3 separate regions of the Homo sapiens genome follow, and regions 2 and 3 are each linked to region 1. Evidence: promoter capture Hi-C in 16 types of primary human blood cells and fetal thymus (Javierre and others, 2016). All regions are on one chromosome and are shown on one strand. The core of a region is centred on a gene start or on the middle of the fragment in contact, and the rest is flanking DNA. Distances in the headings are between cores, read along the strand shown. Region 1 holds the start of PPP4R1 (protein phosphatase 4 regulatory subunit 1). Region 2 holds the start of TWSG1 (twisted gastrulation BMP signaling modulator 1). Region 3 has its middle 12 kb from the start of TXNDC2.

What was found. The method cuts DNA at HindIII sites, captures the fragments that hold promoters and counts their contacts. A CHiCAGO score of 5 or more calls a contact.
Region 2: the fragment with the promoter of TWSG1 here is called in contact with the fragment with the promoter of PPP4R1 in region 1 in 11 of 17 cell types (naive CD8 T cells, neutrophils, fetal thymus and 8 more); the score reaches 16.6 in naive CD8 T cells.
Region 3: a contact is called between a fragment that was not itself captured here and the fragment with the promoter of PPP4R1 in region 1, in 1 of 17 cell types (neutrophils). The highest score is 7.0, in neutrophils.

Annotation. Positions count from the first base shown.
Region 1 is chr18:9,611,357-9,615,808 of GRCh38, reverse strand. It overlaps PPP4R1 (protein phosphatase 4 regulatory subunit 1), which reads left to right and starts at 1,250. Exons shown (of 20, transcript NM_001042388.3): 1 at 1,250-1,331; 2 at 1,539-1,583. The coding sequence starts at 1,325. It overlaps PPP4R1-AS1 (PPP4R1 antisense RNA 1), which reads right to left and starts at 1,002. Exons shown (of 3, transcript NR_110773.1): 1 at 795-1,002. RefSeq lists silencers at 554-1,063, 1,164-1,433, 1,534-1,783 and an enhancer at 2,054-2,133. The HindIII fragment of the contact is 7,461 bases long and covers 1-3,696 here.
Region 2 is chr18:9,332,531-9,336,982 of GRCh38, reverse strand. It overlaps TWSG1 (twisted gastrulation BMP signaling modulator 1), which reads right to left and starts at 2,210. Exons shown (of 5, transcript NM_020648.6): 1 at 2,063-2,210. TWSG1-DT (TWSG1 divergent transcript) reads left to right here and starts at 2,514. Exons shown (of 3, transcript NR_183523.1): 1 at 2,514-2,846. RefSeq lists enhancers at 1,610-1,659, 1,422-1,922 and a silencer at 1,720-2,509. The HindIII fragment of the contact is 11,774 bases long and covers 1-4,452 here.
Region 3 is chr18:9,871,976-9,876,427 of GRCh38, reverse strand. No RefSeq gene overlaps it. Among named protein-coding and RNA genes, the nearest start is that of TXNDC2, 12 kb to the left of the region's middle. The HindIII fragment of the contact is 7,302 bases long and covers 1-4,452 here.

The DNA of each region.
Region 1 (4,452 bases), core at 1-2,500:
CAACACATTGTCCTTGGTCAAGACTACAACGTAGAAAGGAACAAGCTAATTAACTACTTAGAATTCCCTCTCCTAAGAGACCACATCGCCAAAGTGGCACCATGACACAGCTTGGTGTTTTGTTGGTCACTTTAGGAGAACACCATTTTGGAGGCCTTGGGTGGAGCTGGAGATAGAGCCATGGAGGTAGAATCGTGTCGGAAAACCTGGGTTTAGCCCCATTTTGTACTTGGGCGTTTGAGCTAATCGCTTAAGTCACGTAAAACAACAAGACTAATAAAGTCTGGGATACAGACTTTAACACCTCAAGTGCTGCCAAAAGTATTTAGAAGACAAAGCGAATCATAGGCACCCTTCACCGAGCACCTCCTAGACATCAAGAACCATGCTAGGTTCCCTACATTCTTCATTTAATGCCAATAACCCCACGAGGCAGTTATCACCTTCATTCTACAAATGGGCCCCACTCCTACCAATTAACTGGCTGAATCAGGATCTGACCCCGGGCCTGCCAACGCTCCCGCTGGTGGATTGCCCGCCTTGTCAGCTCGAGTTGGCAGGACGTGGGAGTAAAAACCCGGCGCCCCAGCCTTCACCGTGCTGCACGAGGAAGCTGGCTAGGCAGGCATGACTTTGTCAGTCAACCATCCCGCAGCCGGGCCCTGGGCTTTGTTAGCAGCCACTTGGCGAGGGCCCCGGGCGGGTGGGGAGGCGGCGCTTCCTCCAAGAGGAGGTGGGACCCCGGCCCCGACGACCTCGGAGCCGCCCCCGGCCCCGGATCGCCGACGACGTACGTGCAGGCCTGGGGATGGGGCGCTGGCTGCGAGCGGCGCGCCCGCCGAGATGGCTGCGGCTGGCAGGGCGGTGGGCGAGGCCGGTGACCCAATAAAGCGGCCGGGCCGCGGGAGGCCCCGCCCGGCCGGGTTCCGGCACTCGCCGCAGGGTCCCGGCCGGCGGCAGGTTGCGCGCCCCCGTCCGCAGCGCTCGGCGTGAGGGCGGCTCGGGAGGAGGGTGTGAGCGCGCGTCGCCGGGCCGGGACCCGGCAAGCAGCGGGAAAGGCGGGAGGCGGGAGCGCCGGTCGCCCGGGAGCCGCGCGGAGGGGCAGGCGGGGCGGGGCGGGGCGCGGCCGGGGGCCCGGGCGGCCGGGAGCCGCGCCGCCCGCGGCAGGCCCGGGCCCTCGGCCCGCCCCGCGCGCGCGCCCCCGCCAGCCCGGCCCTCCTCCTCCCCGCCGCCCCTCCCGCGCGCGTCCACCGGCTCCCCGGCTCGCGCCGCTCCATGTAGCCCCGGCTCCCCGGGCGGCCGCGGAGGAGGGGGCGACCACAAGATGGCGGGTACGTGGCCCCCTGTTCTCCGGGCGGCGGCGGCTCCTCGAGCCCACCCGCCCTCCGCCGCAGCCCTGAGTGGCTGCCGGGCCGGGGCCGGCGTGGGGTCCCGGCGCGGGAAGGCGCCCCCGGGGCGGGGGGGAGGCGGGCGGGGGGGGGGCGTCGCGCCGGGCCCCGGGGCGCTGACCGGGCCTTTCTTCTCTCCCCTCGGCGCAGACCTCTCGCTGCTTCAGGAGGACCTGCAGGAGGACGCAGACGGATGTGAGTGGCCCGGCCTCGCGGTGGCCTGGCAGTCCGCGGGGAGCGGCCGGGGAGGGCGGGCGGCGGCGAGGCCTGGGCCGGGCCCTGGCTGGCTGAGGGGACGGTGGGCGAGGGCGGCCCCAGGCGGGCTGGGGTGGCGATCGGGGGGGAAAATCTCGCGTCCGTGAGGAAACGGCGCGCCCAGGTTCCGCTGGGGGAGGGAGACGCCCGGAGTAACGCCCAAGTTCGCTTTCCGCCCTTCGCTCTCTTCTCCCGGCGCCCCCGAATCGCCTGCGGGCTCAGCAGTGGCGCGGCTGTTTTGGAAGGAGAAGCGGTGGGGCAGGATTTGAAGTGGGGTTTGGGTGTGTTTCTGCCCCTGGTGTCCCCTTCCCCCGTCACTCTAGGAAGGAAGAGGCTCGCGCGGGAGGTGTGTTTCCTTAGAGTCGCTCTTCCAGGAGCGCCCGGGGGTCAGCCTGGGCCCCGGCTAGCCGTCTGGGCTCCCCGACCCGGTTTTGGATTGTTTGAGGATGACATACCTGTCATTTTACTTTGGCTGGTAGCAGTTTTCAGATGCTCCCGATTTGATTAGTGGATTACGAGAAGGTTAGAAGGTGTGGCCTCCGCAGGAATTACTAGGTTTGGAGAGCATATTTCTTTAATGCGGATGTTCAGAAATCACCCAGCCCTCCTTCAGTGTTAACAGTGCAGCTTTCCTTTGAGGTACTGAAGTTTTTAAAGAGTTGACGCTTTTATTTTTAAAAAGACAAAGTTTCTGACATTTCCTGATGGCGACGGAATTGATATTTAGAAAGGAATTTTTCGTCTTATATGTACTTTTCTAAGCCTCAGAAAATAATTTGGGTCACGATAGAAAAGACAAAAGAGTTAAGCAGGTTTGTATTGAAAGAAGTGACAAATTGCAGTTAACTTAAAATAGTTTCTATTCTTGCTAATCTTCCAAAATAGCGACCCATCAAAAAATCAATAGGTTTTGAGATGCATTTTAAAAATGCAGAGTGTGCAAAATATATAAGCGAAGATCATGGGATACATAAGGGACCAAGAAATTGTTCTGAGTTGAGATGATAACCATAGTAGGATTGTGGTCTGTTTAGTGGAAAGCCTACCGGATGCTGAGATTGACTGTCTAGTACCTGTATAAGTAATTTCAGAGATGGCTGCAGTTTGAAATTACTCTTTTAAATACTCTGTAGTTAATCCTTAGCATTGTCTAATGTGGTTCCCTTACTCAGAGTAAACTTAATTTTTAGATTCCTGGTTGTTTTGAGTAAAGTAAGGGGGATTTACTATTTAGATGGATTATCTGAAACGAGTAATTTATCTTTAAAGTAAATGAACCACATCCAAACTTTTGCTAAGTCTGTGTTTTTAGTGAGGTGGCTCAAAACAGCTCTCTTAAAGGGAGCAGTACTCATGTAGTGAAGGGCAGCTTTAACATTTTATTTAATGTTTACCTTAAGCCACTTATCTGCCTAATAGTAAGTTTGAGATATTATTTAAGGCATCTGTTGATTTCAGATCTCTTGCCAGGTTAGGATTGGAGAAATGGCCCTGATTATGTTACCTCGAGGAGGGCTTTTTATATTTATGTTCGACTTCGTAAATAGAAGATTCATTTATTCAGCAAGTATTTATGACTGGAGCAAAAACTTCTCACTCCTGAAGGATGAAATGCAGTCTCAGTTTCTTCCTTAGCCCCCAAGAAGCACAGTGTAGAGGGGAAGGCATACCTGTGAAAAATTCAACCATGAGTTTCAACACTCTGCCAGGTACTGGGGATGGAGCTTTGAGAAAGATGGGCACAACCCATGCCCTCTAGTGGTTTACAAGCAGTTTTGAATCTAGGTGTACAGTACAGTATTACAGTTACCACTGGAGCCAGGCTGCTCTGTTTGTCTTAGCAGTGTCTTTTTGGGCAGACTTGGGCAACTCACTTAACCTCCCTATGCCTCAGTTTTGTCATTTGTAAGTAGGCATAAGAAATATTACCTACTTCATAGAGTTGTTCAAGGCTGTACATGAGTTAGTGCCTCTGAAGCACTTGGAACAATTCCTGGTAAACAGCGATGATTATGATTATGTTTGCTGTTATGAGAAAAGAGCAAGGGAAGCTTAAAAGAAGAGCAGAGAAGGAAACACTGATGTTGAACCTTACAGAATGAAGGTACTTAAAGATGCTGCCAATGCTCGCAACTAAATTTTTTTTTTTTTTGAGATGGAGTTTCACTCTTGTTGCCCAGGCTGGAGTGCAAAATGGCGCGATCTCGGCTCACCGCAACCTCTGCCTCCCGGGTTCAAGTGATTCTCCTGCCTCAGCCTCCCAAGTAACTGGGATTACAGGCGTGTGCCACCACGCCTGGCTAATTTTGTACTTTTAGTAGAGACGGGGTTTCTCCATGTTGATCAGGCTGGTCTCGAACTCCCGACCTCAGGTGATCCACCTGCCTTGGCCTCCCAAAGTGCTGGGATTACAGGCGTGAGCCACTGCGCCCGGCTGCAACTAACTTTTTAAAGATTCTGTTTCCTGTGCATTTTAATTTAGGATAAAACAGACATTGAAGGCACAATAGTTATTTGCATATTCATAATTTGGTTGAAGGCTTTGTTAGAGTAATTGCTTATTTTTCTCAGTTACTAAAGTTTTTACAGGTGATACCTTTACCCAGAATATTCAGGAACAAAGGACTTTTGGACATATGGCCAGTTGAAGGACCACTTCCCATCTCTTGTGAAGGGAGAAAGAATGAGGGGGAACACTGGGCCATGGTGCCTCCTTAGAGAGCAAGATGGTTGGTAAAGGACTGAGACAGCTGTCACATCCTGGAGAAGCTGGAGAAGGTAGAGGACCCAAAGGTAGAGGAACGGAGCT
Region 2 (4,452 bases), core at 961-3,460, 280 kb after region 1:
CCCACCTCAGCCTCCCAGTTATCTGGGACTACAGACAATACCACCATGCCTGGCCTTCAAAAAACTTTTGAGTGATCATTTAAAGATCATTCTCAATGAAAGATTATATAAACATTCAAAAATAAACAATAATTTTGTATAATAATGGCTTCATAGCCATCTTCAAGGACCTAGAACTCTACAGTTCCTCAGACTATCCAGAAATGGTGACTGTGAAAGTAGAGTGAGTATATCTAAACCCTCAGTAACTTGAGAGTATATCAGGCAAATAACTAGCTTCAATACTGCACTGCTACTATTCAACTTTAATTTTAGGTCCATTATTCAACTGTAAGCCCATATAAAACTATTAATATTGTATTATAATTTTAAGATATTTAATTTTAATTCTTAGAATCAAAACAAAATTTTAAATGGAAATTATTCAGGCTTATTTAGACAGAATAAAGCAGCTCAAAGCAAGAAGTAGAGTCCACAGAGTCACTTCTTAAATAATTGAGCAAATAACAAAAGGCTGTTTAATTACTAATTGCATTAAAAACTCTAGGTAATTATTAGAATGTGACGATATTCTTTTTTTTTTTTTTCTTTTAGACGTTGTCTCGCTCTGTCGCCCAGGCTGGAGTGCAGTGGCGCAATCTCGGCTCACTGCAACCTCCGCCTCCCGGGTTCATGCGATTCTCCTGTCTCAGCCTCCCGAGTAGCTGGGATCACAGGAGCCTATCACCACGCCCCGCTAATTTTTGTATTTTTAGTAGAGACGGGGTTTCACCATATTGGCCAGGCTGGTCTCGATCTCCTGACCTCAGGTGATCCACCCGCCTCGGCCTCCCAAAGTGTGGGATTACAGGGGTGAGCTACCGCGCCCGGCCAAGATATTCTTTTAATTCTATTAGTACCACACATTCTTCAAAGTTATTAAGAAGATACTACAGTTCAAAAAGAAGAAGGAAAAAAGACTAGCACAAACACAGTCTGACAGGGGCCAAACAGTATACAGTTATTAAACTTTAAATACGGGAAGATATCATTTCTTCAGGTTAAAACACCTCCCTATCAAACATAATAAATTAAAATAAATGACTACTGACGTAAGAGGGATAAATAGTGAGTTTATGGGGGCATTTATGATTACTCTAAACTTTTATTCTAAGTGTTACAAAGTACATTAAAGGAAAAATAATAAAAGGGTGAAAAGAATAAAGGGCTTTGGACCTGGTATGAGTCAATTTTGAAAGAGAAAACCCTGGTGATCGTTACTGAGGCTCACAAAGCATTCCCTAAAGACCGTTAGTAACTAATTTTCTAATGTATCTAACGCCGCATACCAAGTAGGATGATTTCTGGAGCAACCAGTACATATTTGCGGAGGCCAAATAAGGTTATTTGGAGACTAACTGTCGTGGAACTAGTTTTCATCCTACAACCATGAAAACTGGGATTTCCCCCCTTTCCCATCTTTTACGGTTGTCTTATGAAATGTTCCACAAATTCATCTTACTCCCCAAATTTCACTGGAAAAAGTATTCAAGTAACTACGACCATGTCGAAATCAGGTAATAGAATTAAAGGACTTATCTTTTCCTAAGGAGTTAGAAACCATCATGCATCAAAATTGTTTCGCATACATCACGCCCAAGTTTCTCGTTAAGGGAGATGGCACTGACAGCGACCAGGGCAGAGCCGAGCCTCTGTAGAGCGGTGCCAGGGCCCCGAAGGCGCCGGACGCCCCGCGAGGCAGAGGCCGGTAGCGGTGTGGGGGACCGGGCACCCGGAACCACCCCCACCCCGGCTCGGCCGACGCGGGCTGCGGAGGACGCGGGCCGGCCCAGAGATGGTCTGGACCAAAGCGGCGCAGAGATGCTGCTGGCTCCCGGCGTCCGGCCTGTGCGCCCGCGCCCAGCACCCCCACTTTGTCCTCCGCGCAGCCGGGCCCAGGCTTCTCCCGGCCCCCGCGAAGCTCGCCGCGGCCCCGGGCCTCTAGAGGGCCGAGCTCGGCGCCCGGCCCCTTCCCAACCAAGAGGCCAAGAGGCTGCACAACCCCCCAGCCGCTCCCACTCACCATGCGCCACGGTCCCGCGAAGTCGCCCACCCCTAGATCCCCGCCGGGTCGGCCGAGCCCGGGGCGCGCTGCGGCGGCTTTGAGTGCGAGGCCAGGCCGCGCCTCCCGCCGTCCCCTCAGCGCAGCGCCCGCGAGCCTCGGGCACCTTAAAGAGACAGGCCCGCCCGCCGCCCTCCTCCCGGCTCCTTGCTCCCCGCCCCTGCTCCCCTCTTCCCCTCCGCCCCCGCTGGGGTCCACAGCCGCCAGCTCCCGCCAGGAGGCGTCTCTCACTCCCCCGGCGCTCCTGTCAGCGCGCACGCCCCCATCTCGGCCCCGCCCACTCCCCCCGCCCCTCCCAACGCCACGCCCCCTCCGCGCCACCCGGTTTCGCCCCTCCCTCGTGCCACGCCTCCACCGCAGGCTCCCGCCCGCCCGCCGGCCCGCAGGCCACGCCCCCAGGCGCACCCACCCCAGCTGCTCAACGCGATTTCCCTTCGCGCTTCTCCGCACCGGGATCCCCAGTCCCTCAGGTTCCGACAGACCCTCCTGTCAGGCCCATTCTCCGGGCCCCCTCAGTTGCAGTGTTAAGATCAACAGTGTTAAGATTAAAGCCTTGTGATGTGCTAGCCACTACGCTGAGGATATGCCGTGTACTAAAATTCCTCAGGACTCCTCACAGCTGCCCTGTAAGGAAGCGGCCATGGCCGGGTTCTAGCGATGCGAGGCCGAGGCTCGGGGCGCTGAGTAGCCTAGCGCGTCGCCGAGGAGAGCTGGCACGTGAACCCCTTGTCGTTTGCCGTCAGAGGTAGGATTTATATAAAATGCGCGTTTCCTAGGTCTACCTCAGACCTACTGAATAAGGATCTCCAAGGGTAGAGCTTTCGAACTTCGTTCACCAATTCGATAAAACTTGCCAGGCTCCTTGTGAGTGGCTGGCGCTGAGCTCTGCATCGGAGCTCTGCATCGGGAGTCGAGAAGAGGGGGCGCCATGGATCCGGGCGCGGAGGTCGCGCAGCCTAGGTAGAAGGTGCGCGGTTAGCACGTAGGTTAAAAACATTGAGAATGACACTCAGTTCTTTCCCACAACTCTGGGTTGCTTTTTTTTTTTTTTCTTTTGAGACAAGGTCTCACTCTCACCAGGCTGGAGGGCAGTGACAACATCAGGCTCGCTGCAGCCTCCACCTCCTAGGCTCAAGCAATCCTCCCGCCTCAGCCTCCCGAGTAGCTGGGGCTACGGGCGCGCACCACCACGCCTGGCTAATATTTTATTTTTTTGTAGATATGGAGGTCTTGCTATGTTGCCCAAGCTGGTTTCAAATTTCGGGGCTCAAGCGATCCTCCCACCGCGGTCTCCTAAATCGTTGGGATGACAGGTGTGAACCATAGTGCCCGGCCGGAATTTGCTTTTTAAAGAAGATTCCAGGGTGATTAAGTTAGAGCCCGCTAGACCAGACCGTCCGCGGGGCACCTTCCCTTGGAAATGATGACCTAGTGTCAAACCCTTATGCTGGTAAATCGTAAATGCCTACCACCCACCTTTGTTGATTGGAAGGAAACAGAATGAAAACAGCTGATTGGCTGGGGGTGGATTGCATTACTGATGTTAGCCCACTTTTGTACAATAAATATGGGTTTTAAAAATCATCCTTGAAAATTATCCTAGAGAAATAATTAAGGGTATACCCAAATTTAAGTATAAGAATCTTATTCTTGGCATTATATACTAGTTAAGTGAATTAGGAAACTTCCGATCAATGCACTAATTCAGCCATTAAAAAGTGATACCGCAGATCAGAGGTTCTCAAACTTTTTCGTCTCGGAATCCCTTTACACTCCTGAAAATTATGGAGCATGCCAAAGAGGTTTTGTGTATGTGTGCTACATCTGTTAATACTTTCAAAATTAAAACAATTTTTTACATATTCATTATTTCATTTAAAAATAACAAACCCATTATATGATAACAAATATTTAATGAAAAATAAGTATATATTTTAAAACAGTAGGAAGAACAGCGTGGTTTTAGATTTTTGCTATTGCCTTTAACATCAAACTTAATAGCCACTGTTTTTATATCTGCTTCTGTATTCAAACTGTTGCAGTATCATGTATTATGTAGTTTCTGCTTGTGAGAGAATGAGGGTGAAAAGTCAAATAATGCCTTAGAATTAAAATTAAAATAATTTTGAGCTCACAACCTCCTGAAAATGTCTTGGGATCCCTCCCTAGCAGCCCCAGATCACACTATGACAATTAGTGTTGCAGATGAATATTGCGACTAGAGATATTCATGATACATAAAAAATTTTAAAGTACTGCATAGTTTTTGAATAATTAATTTTGTTGTTGTTTGTTTGTTTTTGAGACAGAGTCTTGTACTTTCACCTGGGCGGGAGTGCAACGCTGCCATC
Region 3 (4,452 bases), core at 1,216-3,715, 260 kb before region 1:
ACTGATGATGTTGACCTTGACCACTTGGCTGAGGTGGTGTTTGTCAGGTTTCTCCAGAGTGAATGATTTTACTGTGAATAATTTTACCGTTTCCTTATAGTATGTACCCTTTGGAAGGAAGTCACCATGCACAGCCCATGCCCAAGGGTGGAGATTATGCTCTACTTCTTTGAGGGAGGAGTAGCCACAGAAATGATTTGGAATTCTTCTGTTTGGAATATTTGCCTCCCCCCCAAAATTTATTAATTCGATTATATATTAATATCAGTGTGGATTATGGGTATTTATTTATTTATTTATTTGAGACAGAGTCTCACTCTGTCGCCCAGGCTGGAGTGCAGTGGCACGATCTCAGCTCACTGCAAGCTCCACCTCCTGGGTTCAAGCGATTCTCCTTCCTCAGCCTCCCAAGTAGCTGGGATTACAGGCACCCACCACCACGCCCGGCTAATTTTTTGTACTTTTAGTAGAGACGGGGTTTCACTGTGTTAGCCAGGATGGTCTCGATCTCCTGACCTTGTGATCCACCTGCCTCGGCCTCCCAAAGTGCTGGGATTACAGGCATGAGCCACCGTGCCCGGCCGATTATGGATGTTTATTTTGTACTTTGGGTTATAATCCAATACTATGTTTTTATTTTCGGCTCAAATTGTCAGCTTTGGTCATTGAGAGCTCTTTCCGATGGCTTCTATGTCCTATTTGATATATACCTGCTGATTTGCTTTGTAAGCACTTCCTTACTTTCTGGCTCTGCAGGATACTCCTGGTTCATCCTGTATATTCACTGCCCGAGCCATAGAATCATCCATTTCTAGGTTTTTTAAAACTGGAGAATAGTATTTAGAAACCAAGACCTAGGCTAGGTGTGTTCATTGATGCTGGGTATCATTGTCTCTAGACCCTCCCCGTGAACATGATTAGGAAGTATATACATATATGTATGTGTATATATATGTATATATAGTAACCCTTGCATATACACAAATTATAATTACTTCTATATCTGCCTATCAGTATCTATATTAAGCCAAACATGAGTTCATACCGATGTCCTCAAGTCTAATTCAGTACCACGTGGCTCCTTTCAGCCTTTCTCTCTTGCTTGTCTGTAACCTTCTACTCCAAAAGTGACTTGGTTCCCATCATCCACCAACCATTTACCTATTTGCCCAATCCCAATATGCATGTAGAATGGTTTCAGGATAGTTAACCTGTACCTCCACGGTTAGCAACTTTATCAACTGGAGCACAGTGCTTGTACATATAGTTCCTTTTATCTTTAGTTTTATAGTTTCCCGCATTTCCAAAGTTACTTAACATCAGCATTTCTTTCTCCTGACACCTTCAGTGAAGTTATATCACACATTTGTAATATAGTTAAAGTCATGCACCACATAATGGCATTTGGTCAGTGATGGACTGCACATACAACAGTGGTCCCATAAGATTATAACAGAACTGAAAAATTCCTATTAGCTAGTGGCATCATGGCTGCCCTAATGTCATGGCAAAATTATTTTTAAAATAAATTTAGTGTAGACTAAAGGTACAGTGTTTATAAAGTACACAATAATGTACAGGCATGTCTCAGGCTTTTACATTCACCGCTCACTCACTGACTCACCCAGAGCAACTTCCTATGTACAGAAAGTGCCCTATGAAGATGTACCATTTTAACTTTTTTTGTTTTTGAGATGGAGTTTCGCTCTTGGCATCCAGGCTGGAGTGCAACGGCACGATCTCGGCTCACTGCAACCTTCACCTCCCAGGTTCAAGTGATTCTTCTGCCTCAGCCTCCCAAGTAGCTGGGATTACAGGCACCCACCGTCACACCCAGCTATTTTTGTATTTTTAGTAGAGACGGAGTTTTACCATGTTGGCCAGGCTGGTCTTGAACTCCTGACCTCAGGTGATCTGCCAGCCTCTGCCTCCCAAAGTGCTGGGATTACAGGCGTGAGCCACCACGCCCGGCCATTTCAATCTTTTATAGCATATTTTTACTGCATCTTTTCTATGTTTAGGTATGGATTAGGCACACAAATACCATCAAGTTATAATTGCCTACAGTATTCAGTATGGTAACATGCTCTAGGGGTTTATAGCCTAGGAGCAATAGGCTGTACTATCTACGTTTGTTTAATTTCACTCTATGATGTTCACACTATGATGAAACCACCTAATGACACATTTTTCAGAATGTATCCCTGTCATTAAGTGATGCATGACTGTATATTCTTTTTTGTTTTCTTTTTTTGAGACAGGGTCTCACTTTGTTGCCCAGTCTGGAGTGCAGTGGTGTGAACACAGGCTCACTGTAGCCTCAACCTCCCAAGCTCAAGCAATCCTGCCACCTCAGTCCCCCAAGTAGCTGGGACTACAGTTGTGCACCACAATGCCTGGCTAATTGTTGTATTTTTTTTGTAGAGACAGGGTATCGCTATGCTACCCAGGCTATGACTGTATATTCTTTTGTCACAATCTTCATTTCATCCTAGAACCCTGTTCTGTCGGTCGTTTTTTTCAAATTTGCATATATTATTTTGTGCTGTGGAGTCCTTTGGGTTTTGACAAATGGATGGGTTTTTTTTTGTTTGTTTGTTTTTTGTTTTTTGTGGGTTTTTTTTTTTTTTGACGGAATTTCACTCCTGTTGCCCAGGCTGGAGTACAATGTCACTATCTTGGCTCACTCTAACCTCCGCCTCCTGGGTTCAAGTGATTCTCCTGCCTCAGCCTCTTGAGCAGCTGGGATTACAGGCATCTGCCACCACGCCCAGCTAATTTTTTGTATTTTTAGTAGAGATGGGGTTTCACCATGTTGGCCAGGTTGGTCTCAAACTCCTGACCTCGTGATCCGCCCACCTTGGCCTCCCAAAGTGCTGGGATTACAGGCATGAGCCACTGCTCCCAGCCAATAGATGGTATTATTAACCACCACTACAGTACCATACAGAATAGTTTCATAGCCCTAAAAAAATATGTGCTTCACCTAGTCAGCCCTCATCCTTCTGCAAACCCACAGCAACCACTGATTTGCTCATTGTCTCTATAGTTTTGTCTTTCCAGAATGTCACAAAATGGAATAATATAGTATGCAACCTTCTCAGACTGACTTCTTTCTCTTAGCAATACGCATTTATGGCATTCCCATGTTGTTTTGTTTATTGTTTATTTCATCACTGAATAAAAAATTATAAACTTTAGTTAAACTCTGAAAAGCAGATCCTAAGACAAAAATTTGAGTGCAAGTAGTTTATTTGGGAGATAATCCCAGGAGACACTGGAGGGGGAGTTGGAAGGTGATCAAGTCAGTTGCCACTGTGTACAACTGAAGCTCACACCAAAGGCAAGCTGGGAGGGAGTAATGCCAACTCTCTAGACTTCATTGGAACATTTTGTCTAGGGGCAGTAAGCCTGGCACCTCTGCTTGCCCTAGGCACAGGCCCTGCATGTCCCCACAACCACCCTGAAAGCATCACAGGTGTTTGCAGTGAGCAGTCATCTGAGAATAGAGGCCAGTGCTAAGAAATTGTGCTTGGAGAGGGTACCTGCAATGTCTATTACAAGAGGTGAGCAGTATTAGCAGAAGAAAGATTTCTCTTCTAGATTCCACTCTAAAGAGTCTGAAAATCTAACTGAGGATCCATGGGTACCCTGCCAAGATAGAGCTGTGAGCAGTGGTCCTACTCTGACCACTTCTGACTTTCTAGTGTAATGTTTAAAGCTCTTTGGTGTAAGTATTTACTGAAAAATTCCATGTGGAGCTGCTTCGGTAAGATTCAGGGTAGGTGTAAGTTTGTTGATGTTTTAATACAAATATGCCACTAAAAATATTTATCAAATGCACCATAGTTCATGGTGTAAAGACGTTGCTGTCTGCTTGCTGTTCTTTGAATCTACCAACGCCCACCTTCTAAAGAAGCCAGACAAGTGAGCAGACTACTATAGGCTACATCTGCCTTCAGAACGAATGGAGCCACAGTGGGGTGGAGCAGGTAGAAAGAAGCAAAGCAGCAGGCCCCCAGTAATCATCTTTTAGTGTATTGTAGCTTCGACGTTCAGACAATGTTTAGATGTTCAGACAGATGGTCAATACCTTCCTTCCTGGGAAGGGTCCAAGCTCATTCTCACCGTAAGCAAATGTGGCATTCAGTGGGCCCTTAATGCATGAATGAATAAAGGCATGGATGGATTACAGCTTGTATAATGGAAAACAGTTGAAGAAGGTTTATACTAAAACACTTAATTTAAAAAATATTTTTGCTGAAATGATCTTTATGAACATCTGGCAGACCACCATCTCCACCTTAGCCTCTGAGTAAAGAAAAAGGAGAATCACTATATATTGTATGTATCAAAACATCACTATGTACCCCATAAATCTGTGCAATTATTATGCGTTAATTTTAAGAAATAAAGGAAATTGGAGAGAGGTGAAAGACACTATTCCCATGT